Linked DNA regions of Homo sapiens: all the other regions are linked to region 1. The links are contacts of gene promoters, found by promoter capture Hi-C in blood cells and fetal thymus (Javierre and others, 2016). All regions are on one chromosome and are shown on one strand. The core of a region is centred on a gene start or on the middle of the fragment in contact, and the rest is flanking DNA. Distances in the headings are between cores, read along the strand shown. Region 1 holds the start of STX4 (syntaxin 4). Region 2 overlaps ITGAM (integrin subunit alpha M). Region 3 overlaps ITGAM (integrin subunit alpha M).

Region 1 (2,986 bases), core at 348-2,847:
AAGTCATCCAATTGGACTCCATGATCTCTGCAGGCCCTTCCTTCATACACCTGTCATCTAATACTTCATGAAACATTTGCTGAAATGTCCTCATTTCTGAGAAAAAAAACCCACCTGGGTTTTTCTCATTCTTGTGTTGACGGAGTTATAGTTCTCATCAGCTTCCTCCTTCTGGGGCTCTATGGCTGTGGGAAGACACAGGGGTATTGGGGGTACTTGTCTCCATAGGATTTTTAGGGAAATATAATTTATCATAAAATGACTAAGGCTGAGCCTCTAAGAGGAGAAAGTAAGTTTATTTTTCTTTGCATTACATCACTGAGTTCCCATAGGTATGCAGAGGCCACCTAACAAAACTCCATCTCCCTGCCCAAAGAATGCCCAGTGGGCAGCGATAACTGTGTAAGTAAATGGTTTCATTGTAAATAAAAGAACCTGAGAGGCGGACTTGTGCTGTGGAGAGTACAATGGCCTGGAGGCCAGGAGACAGATGCTAGACCCAGGCCTGCTGTGTGACCTGGATATATCACTGGCTTCTCTGGGCCACACACTCCCCAGATATACCAACAACAGGGCAGGATCAGAGGGAAGGATCTGTCTGAGGTCCCAGGAGCTCACCCTTCAGCTGCAGGCGGATCTCCCTCCCCAGCTGTTTGATCTCATCGCGCAGGTTCTGCAGCTCCTGCTTCATGCCTGAATAAGAGAAGGCCAAGACTCCCAAACAGCAGCCCCCACCTCAACAAACCACTCTGGCCACCACCTGCGTGGAACTACAACCCCCACAATCCCTGGGGCGGAGCATGCGCCCTGCAGCCGGGGTTTCACTCACTCTCCTCGGGAAGGGGCGTGGCCAGGATGGTGACCTGCTGTTTCTCCAACTCCTGGACTTTATTCCCCAGTTTGACAATAGTCTGCCGAATTGTCCGGACCTGGGGAGGGTGACCGAGAGGGCTGAAAGAGATATGGGGTACTCCAGACCACGCTACTCCTCGGGTCCTCCTACACCCTCGCGAATCCAGGCGGAGACCCCAGCCCCTTACCTTGTGGAAGAACTCCTCGTCCGGGCTCCCCAGCCGTGCCGTGCCCGGGTGCACCACCAGCGCGACCCGCTCCTTGTCCTCTTCGTCCGAGCTGTCATCCCCCTGCCAGGCCCGGAGTCATTGGCACCACCGTTTCGCTGCGGCTCTTACCCCGCAGGACCCACAGGCTTCCGGGACTTTCCTTCCTGGCCATCAGCCACCCCTCCCTATCCCGAAGACCAGAAGTCCTGCGTTCCAGTTCGTCCGCCCGTCCCCATCCCCGCTGCCCTGGCGTCTCACCTGTCTCAGCTCGTGGGTCCTGTCCCGCATGGCGGCCTGAGCTCTCCCTCCCCGGCGCCAGAGCCGGGAGGCCCTCAAATTTGGAATTCCCGTACCCCGCTCACACTCTGACACTCCCCTCCCTCCCCCTGCGGACCCCAACACCCCCACGAGCCGCCAGAGGCTCCGTCCCTTGCACCGCCCACAGTCAATGGGAAGGCGCCGACCCCGGGGACCCCCCAAGGTTCCACAGGTTGGAATTCCCTTTTCTTCCCCGCTCCAGCTCCCGCAGCCTCAGCCCCGCCCCTCCGTGATAAATTCGGGGCATGCGCACATGGTCGCGTCTCTTCCTTGCCCGAGGCTGGGAAGGTGGAGTCGGAAGTTGTTGCGCCCCGAGCGGAAGCGGAGATGCCTGGACGCGAGAACTTGCTACCGTCACCGGAACCGTTGCATCTTCCAACGGAAATCTGGTTGCCAAAAGGGGTAGGAATACGTCATTTGTACGTAATCCGAGACACCCGCATCTCACATCACCCCATGGTGCCCCCACCGCGTCACGTGACCAGCCCGGTCCCAAACTCGTGGACCGCAGAATGTGACCCTGTGACTGTCACGTGTCCCGGCTCTGTCACCGCCGTCTCTGGGACGCCGTTCTCATCACGACGTCCCCGGCACCCCAACGACCGAGCGACGCCCACACGGCCCCCGCGAGGTGGGGAGGGGCGCGCCGACCACCCCCAGAGGCCTTTCGAGGCAGTGGGTGGTAGGACCCTTGCTGACCTCGCCTTTATTGCTTTCGGGTCCAGGGCGTGGGCGGACTGACGACTTAGCATTTGGGGCTGTCAGCATCATGGGACCTTGAAAATCGGGAAATAATAGGATCCGAGTCGTCAGCGTCAGAAAATTGCAGGGTTGTGTGGGCAGGGAATCTGGGGGTGGGAAGTGACCTCAGCCAAGGCAGAAATCTCTTCTTCCGCATCCTTCTGGCGCAGCCTCTGACAGGTGGGCGGCCAGCCGGCGCCCTCCTTGAACACTGCAGCCCGGCTGCACTCACCACCTTGTGAGCCGTCAGACCATGTCAGGGCAGCTCAGGCTAAGAAAAGTGTTTGTATTGATCACGCTGCCTCCCTGCCACTCACACCCCCCAGCCCCTGCCTTGCATCTGAGGCCAGGTAATGACTTTGTTCTTAACTGAATCTGGGGAGTTCCTAGCCCAGTACCAAGAACATTACGGGCCCTCTATAAATACTTGTGGACAGAATTTCAGGCTTTCATGTATCTGAGGATAAAGCCCCTGGTTCCTTGGTCTTCTTTAGGCTTCAGGCTTTCTGACTGTGACACTTCTCTAATCCTGGCTATCTAGATATTCACTCATTTTTTATTTTTAAAAATTTTTACGAGATGCGGTCTCACTATGTTGTCCAAGCTGGTCTCTAACTCCTGGGCTTAAGCAATCCTTCTGCCTCAGCTTCCCAAAGTGCTGGGATTACAGGCATGCACCACCATGCACAGCAACATTCAGTCATTTAATGGATATTTTTTGGGCACATAGTATGGGCCAAACACTGTTCTAGGGCTGGAGATACATCAAGGACTAATAGACAAAAATTCCTGCACTCGTGGAACTTATATTCTCTAGAAGGAGTCCCCAAGGTCACTCAGCAAGTCTCAGCATAGCCGGGAATGAA
Region 2 (2,986 bases), core at 318-2,817, 280 kb before region 1:
TGAGCTGTGATCATGCCACTGCACTCCAGCCTGGGCAACAGAGTGAGACTCCATCTCAAAAAAAAAAAAAAAAAGAACTGACAAGCTTTTAGGTAGACCAAGGAAAAAGGGAGAAAAAACAGAAACAACAGATAAGTAAAATTATAAATGAAAGAACATACAACTGATGCCATAGCAATAAAAAGGATCATTAAGAGACTACTATGAACAATTATATGTTAACAAACTTGATAACCTTGAAGGAATGGATAAATTCCTAGAAATATACAACCTACCAAGCCTGAATCATAAGGCAATAGAAAGTTTAAACAGATCTATAATGAGTAAGGAAATTGAATCAGTAATCAAAGACCTCCTAACAAAGAAAAGCCCAGGACCTGGTGGCTTCTCAGGCAAATTCTACCAACCAAACATTTAAATAAGAATTAATATGAATTCTTCTCAAACTCATCCAAAAAACTGAAGAGGAGGGAATACTTCCAAACTTATTGTATGAGGCAAGCACTATCCTGACACTAAATCCCAACAAACACACCATGAGAAAAGATCACTACATGCCAATTTCCCTATTGAACATAGATCCAAAATCCTAAATAAAATACTAGCAAACTGAATTCAATAGCACAAAAGGGTCATACGCCATGACCATGTGGGCTTTATTCCTGGCATGCAAGGATGGCTCAACATATGCAAATCAATAAATGTGATGCACCACATTAACAGAATAAGGAATAAAAATAACATGATCTTATCAATAAGAAAAGAAAGCATTTAATAAAACTAAACATCTGTCTTAGCTTATTTGGTATAACAAATAACATAGACTGGATGGGTTATAAGCAATAGAAATTTATTTCTCATAGTTCTGAAGACTTGTGACATCCAAAATCAAGGTGCAAGCAGATTCAATATCTGGTGAGAGCCTATTTTCTGGTTCATAGGCAACCATCATTTTGCTTTTGTCTAAGGGCACTAATCCTATTAATGATGGCCACACTCTCATGACCTAAACACCTTCCAAAGGTCCCATCTACAAATACCATCACACAAGGAATTAGGCTTCAACATATGAATCTGGGGAGGACACAAACATTCAGGCCACAGGAATAGCCACTCATGATTAAAAACCCTCAACAAACTAGAAATACAGGGAAATTACATCAACATGATAAAGAACATTAAAAAAAGTGTCTAGTTAACATCATACCCAGTGGTGAAAATTTGATTTTACCACTAAAATTAGGAACAAGGCAAGGATGCCCACACTCACCACTTCTATTTCAACACAGTACTGAAAGTCCTAGCCAGAGCAATTGGGCAAGAAAAAGATAAGAAATGCATTCAAGTTAGAAATAAAGAAAAAAAAATTGTCCCTGTTTGCAATTGACATGATCTTATATATAAGAAACTTGTTATAAATACTCTACGAAAAAGTTATCAAATTTAATAAACAAATTTAGTAAAGTCATGGAATACAAAATGAACATACAAAAATTATTTGTTTCTATACACTAACAACAAACTATCTGAAAAAGAAATTAATCCTATTTACAATGGCATCAAAAAATAAAATGCTTACAAGTTAATTTAACCAAGAAGGTGAAAAATATGCACACTAAAACTATAAAACATTGACGAAAGAAAGTTAAGACAAAAATCAATGGAAAGATATCCCATATTATGGATTGAAAGAATATTTTTAAAGGTCCATACTATTCAAAGTGATCGATAGAGTCAATGTAATTCCTACCAAAATCCCAATGGCATTTCTTACAGAAATAGAAAAAACAATACTAAAATTAATATGAAGTCACAAAAGACCTCAAATATCCAAGACAATCTTGAGCATAAACAACAAAGGTAGAGGTATCACACTACCTGACATCAAAATACACCACAAAGGTATACTCAGCAAAACAGCATGACACTGACATAAAAACAGAGACATTGACCAATGGAACAGAATACAGAGCTCAGAAATGAACCCATGCATTTACAATCAACTAATTTTCTTTTCTTTTTTTTTTTTTTCCAGACGGAGTCTTGCTCTGTTACCCAGGCTGGAGTGCAGTGGCATGATGTAGGCTCACTGCAACCTCTTCCTCCCAGGTTCCCCCATTCTCCTGCCTCAGCCTCCCGAGTAGCTGGAACTACAGGTGCCCACCACCATGCCTGGCTAATTTTTTTTTTTTTTTTTTTTTTTTTTTTTTTTTTTTTTGAGACGGAGTCTCGCTCTGTCGCCCAGGCCGGACTGCGGACTGCAGTGGCGCAATCTCGACTCACTGCAAGCTCTGCTTCCCGGGTTCACGCCATTCTCCTGCCTCAGCCTCCCGAGTAGCTGGGACTACAGGCGCCCGCCACCGCGCCCGGCTAATTTTTTGTATTTTTAGTAGAGACGGGGTTTCACCTTGTTAGCCATGACGGTCTCGATTTCCTGACCTCATGATCCACCCGCCTCAGCCTTCCAAAGTGCTGAGATTACAGGCATGAGCCACCGCGCCCGGCCAACAATCAACTAATTTTCAACAAAGGTGCCAAGGGCATACAATGGGGAAAGGACAGTCTTTTTAACAAATGGTGTTAAGAACACTGGATATCCACAGGCAAAAGAATGAAACTGAGCCTTTATCTCAAACCAAATACAAAAATCAAAAGTGCTGGGCCGGGTGCAGTGGCTCACGCCTGTAATCCCAGCACTTTAGGAGACTGAGGCGGGTGGATTACCTTAGATCAGGAGTTCAAGACCAGCCTGGCCAACATGGTGAAACCCCGTCTCTATTAAATATACAAAAAAGTAGCCAGGCATGGTGGCGGAGGCCTGTAATCCCAGCTACTTGGGAGGCTGAGGCAGGAGAATCGCTGGGACCCGGGAGGTGGAGGTTGCAGTGAGCTGAGATCGTGCCACTGCACTCCAGCCTGGGCAATAGAGAGAGACTCCATCTAAAATAAAATTAAATTAAAAAATAAAAAAATTAAAAAGTGAGTT
Region 3 (2,986 bases), core at 171-2,670, 260 kb before region 1:
ATCTAAAATAGCCAAACTGGCAGGGTGCGGTGGCTCACACCTGTAATCCCAGCACTTTGGGAGGCCAAGGCAGGTGGATCACTTGAGTCCGGGAGCTCAAGACCAGCCTGGACAACATGGCAAAACCCAGTCTCTACAAAAAATACAAAAATTAGCCAGGCATGGTGGTGCATGCTTGTAATCCCAGCTACTCAGGAGGCTGAGAGAGGAGAATCGCTTGAACCCAGGAGGTAAGGTTGCAGTGAGCCGAGATTGTGCCACTGCACTCCAGCCTGGGCGACAGACTGAAACTTTTGTCTCAAAAACTAAAAAAAAATAAAACAGCCAAACTCATTGAAGCAAAGAATATAATGGTGGCTGCCAGAGGCTAGAGAACAATGAGGAGTTGCTAATCAATGGGTATACATTTTCAATATGCAAGATGAAGTTCAAGAGGTCTGCTGTACAACATTGCACCAATAGATGACAGTATTACATTGTACATTTTAAAATCTGTTAAGAGGATAGGTCTCATGTTAAGTGCCCTTACCACAATAAAAAAATTTTTAAACATAAAGAAAGAAAAATGTAAGGCTAGCAAAAACCCAGAGACCAGAGGCCAGAAAACTAGATGGTCTCAGGTGGCTATGGTGGGAAAGAATATGAACAGGGAAGATGGAACCAGACTGTAAGGGTCCCTCCAGACAGTGGGCTCCACCTGGCAGGAGACAGAAAGCCAACTTACAGAGCAAAACAGTTGTCAGGTCCAGAATATAGGGTGACAAGTCATCAGGATGGGCTCCATGCTTTGCAAGACCCAATGCAAAAAAACGTAGGACCCCTTGTTGAAAAATTACTAAGAATTGAAGATGGCAATAGCAGAGCATTAAGCCAAGCACAGGGCGATTCTGAGAGAGGGGCACGTGTGACTGCACAATTCCACATCTGTGAAGTGTGCAATCCCGTAAGGTGGCCAACCGCATAGGTTTCCCAGGATGTGGGATTTCAGTACTAAATCTGGGACAGAGTTAAGCAAACTAGAGCTCTTGGTCACCTTACCAGGACCGAGATTCAGAAGAAAGGAATGCCTGCATCCCAATACTGCTAGCTTGCCATTTGCCATCGCTGGGCCTTGATCTACTCATCTGTAAAGTGGGGGTGATGAGGCTATCATGCACCTCCTATTGCTGTAGAAATAATCAATCTGGAACTAAGAGTCTTTGAGATTTCTGTGAATGTGTGTGTGTGTGTGCACGTGCACGCATGCATGTGCAAGTCTGACTCTGTCACTCTGGCTGCTGGAGTACAGTGGTGTGACCAGGACTCACTGCAGCCTCAACCTCCCAGGCTCAAGTAATCCTCCGGCCTCAGCCTCCAGAGTAGCTGGGACCATGGGTGTATGCCACCACACCTGGCTAATTTTTTTTTTTTTTTTTTTTTTTTGGAGAGATGGGTTCTCACCATGTTGCCCTGACTGGTCTTGAGCTCCTGGGCTTAAACAATCCTCCCAACTCAGCCTTCCAAAGTGCTGGGATTACAGGCGTCAGCCACCAGGCCCAGCCACATGTTATTATTTTTGAAGGTTCTGAAAGGAGTACTGTGAGAACTTATCTGGCAGCTGTGGGCACACTGAATTAGGAGAAAGATCAACAAAGAGGCTACTGTCATGACAAGGACAGTGACCAGGTCTCACCTGGCTATGGGAGGGGCTGATGCCAGATCCTGAGGTTCCGTGAAACAGGTAAACAGCACCCCGGTTGTCCTCCTCTCCTGGGGCCCCAATGGCCACGTCCGTCAGCTTGTCCCCATTTACGTCCCCCAGCACTGTTAGGGCTGCCCCAAAGCGGCCCCAGGGTTGGCCCTGCTCCCCGTAGAGAACAGCATCACACTGCCACCGAGCCCTCTGCTAAACACAAACAGTATCAGGCCCCAACCCAGGCGACCCCTCCACCCACACCGGGCCCCACCCAGCCCAGGTCCCATTGCCACTCACCCCCCTGGGCAAGGGGCACACGGACACCTGGCCCCCTCGGGTCTGCTCGTAGTAATGGGGGGCCCCGATGAGGACCAGGTCGGTGCTGCCGTTGCTGTCCACGTCCACGGAGCAGAGGGAGGCCCCGAAGTAGGCGCCGATCTGAAAGAGACAGGACCGTAATCACACACCTCTTCCCACCTAAAGCAGATGTGGAGGTTTTCTCTCTCTGAAGAAAAGTTATGCCTGCTGGGGGAATCCCTCTGGAGCAGATGTGATCTTCTATATGGTTCATGATAAATTATCACTTGAATGTGCTGCCAGCTAAAGGAACCTATATAATAAGCCTGGCAGAATGGTTTCTGCCTGTAATCCCAGCTCCTCGGGGGGCTGAAGTGGGAGGATCCCTTGAGCCAAGGAGTTTAAGGCTGCAGTGAGCTTTGTCACCACTGCACTCCAGCTTGGGCAACAGAGCAAGATCCCAATCTCTAAGTGTATATATATATTTTTTAATAATTTAAAAGATAAAAAATAAGCCTATAGTAGAGTCAATGGGCAGTGAGTGAGGATTTACTCCAGGTGGTATTCCTGGGAGATTATTAAGGCAGCAAAGAAGAATTTGGGTTGGAAAATACATAGAAAATTCTAGAAGAGAAGACAGAATACCACCCTTTCAATATATTGGGAATCTTTAGGGAGGTAAAAAGTCAAAGTTGGCACTCTGACTAATAAGGCTAATAACTGGCTTAGATTAAAAATAACTATTTGTTATTTGAATATTTGTTGTGATATTAAGAAATATCTTCAAGGTCAATATGTAGAATTCATCCATAAAATTCACCTATTTAATCATACATTCATTCATTCATTTATTCATTCATTCAACAAACAAGTGTTTCTTATTGCTAAGCACACAGCTGGGTAATAGAGATACAGTGCCTTCCAGGGCCCTCAGTGCAGCCAGGTGGAGGAGAGGAGAGTAATCAATGGATTAACAGGGAGATGTGTATAGCAATTTCAAACTGGGACAAGTTC

What was found. Contacts are between HindIII fragments. The CHiCAGO score rates a contact against its expected background, and 5 or more counts as called.
Region 2: a fragment that was not itself captured here is called in contact with the fragment with the promoter of STX4 in region 1 in 1 of 17 cell types (M0 macrophages); the score reaches 5.1 in M0 macrophages.
Region 3: a contact is called between a fragment that was not itself captured here and the fragment with the promoter of STX4 in region 1, in 1 of 17 cell types (monocytes). The highest score is 8.2, in monocytes.

What each region holds. Positions count from the first base shown.
Region 1 is chr16:31,032,169-31,035,154 of GRCh38, reverse strand. STX4 (syntaxin 4) reads right to left here and starts at 1,597. Exons shown (of 11, transcript NM_004604.5): 1 at 1,320-1,597; 2 at 1,041-1,142; 3 at 830-929; 4 at 619-693; 5 at 115-185. The coding sequence starts at 1,349. RefSeq lists enhancers at 739-1,249, 1,762-2,273. The HindIII fragment of the contact is 4,602 bases long and covers 1-2,986 here.
Region 2 is chr16:31,315,433-31,318,418 of GRCh38, reverse strand. All of the region lies in intron 14 of ITGAM (integrin subunit alpha M), which reads right to left. Among named protein-coding and RNA genes, the nearest start is that of ITGAX, 38 kb to the left of the region's middle. The HindIII fragment of the contact is 2,960 bases long and covers 88-2,986 here.
Region 3 is chr16:31,296,641-31,299,626 of GRCh38, reverse strand. It overlaps ITGAM (integrin subunit alpha M), which reads right to left. Exons shown (of 30, transcript NM_000632.4): 13 at 1,973-2,113; 14 at 1,673-1,882. Among named protein-coding and RNA genes, the nearest start is that of ITGAM, 38 kb to the right of the region's middle. The HindIII fragment of the contact is 4,791 bases long and covers 1-2,986 here.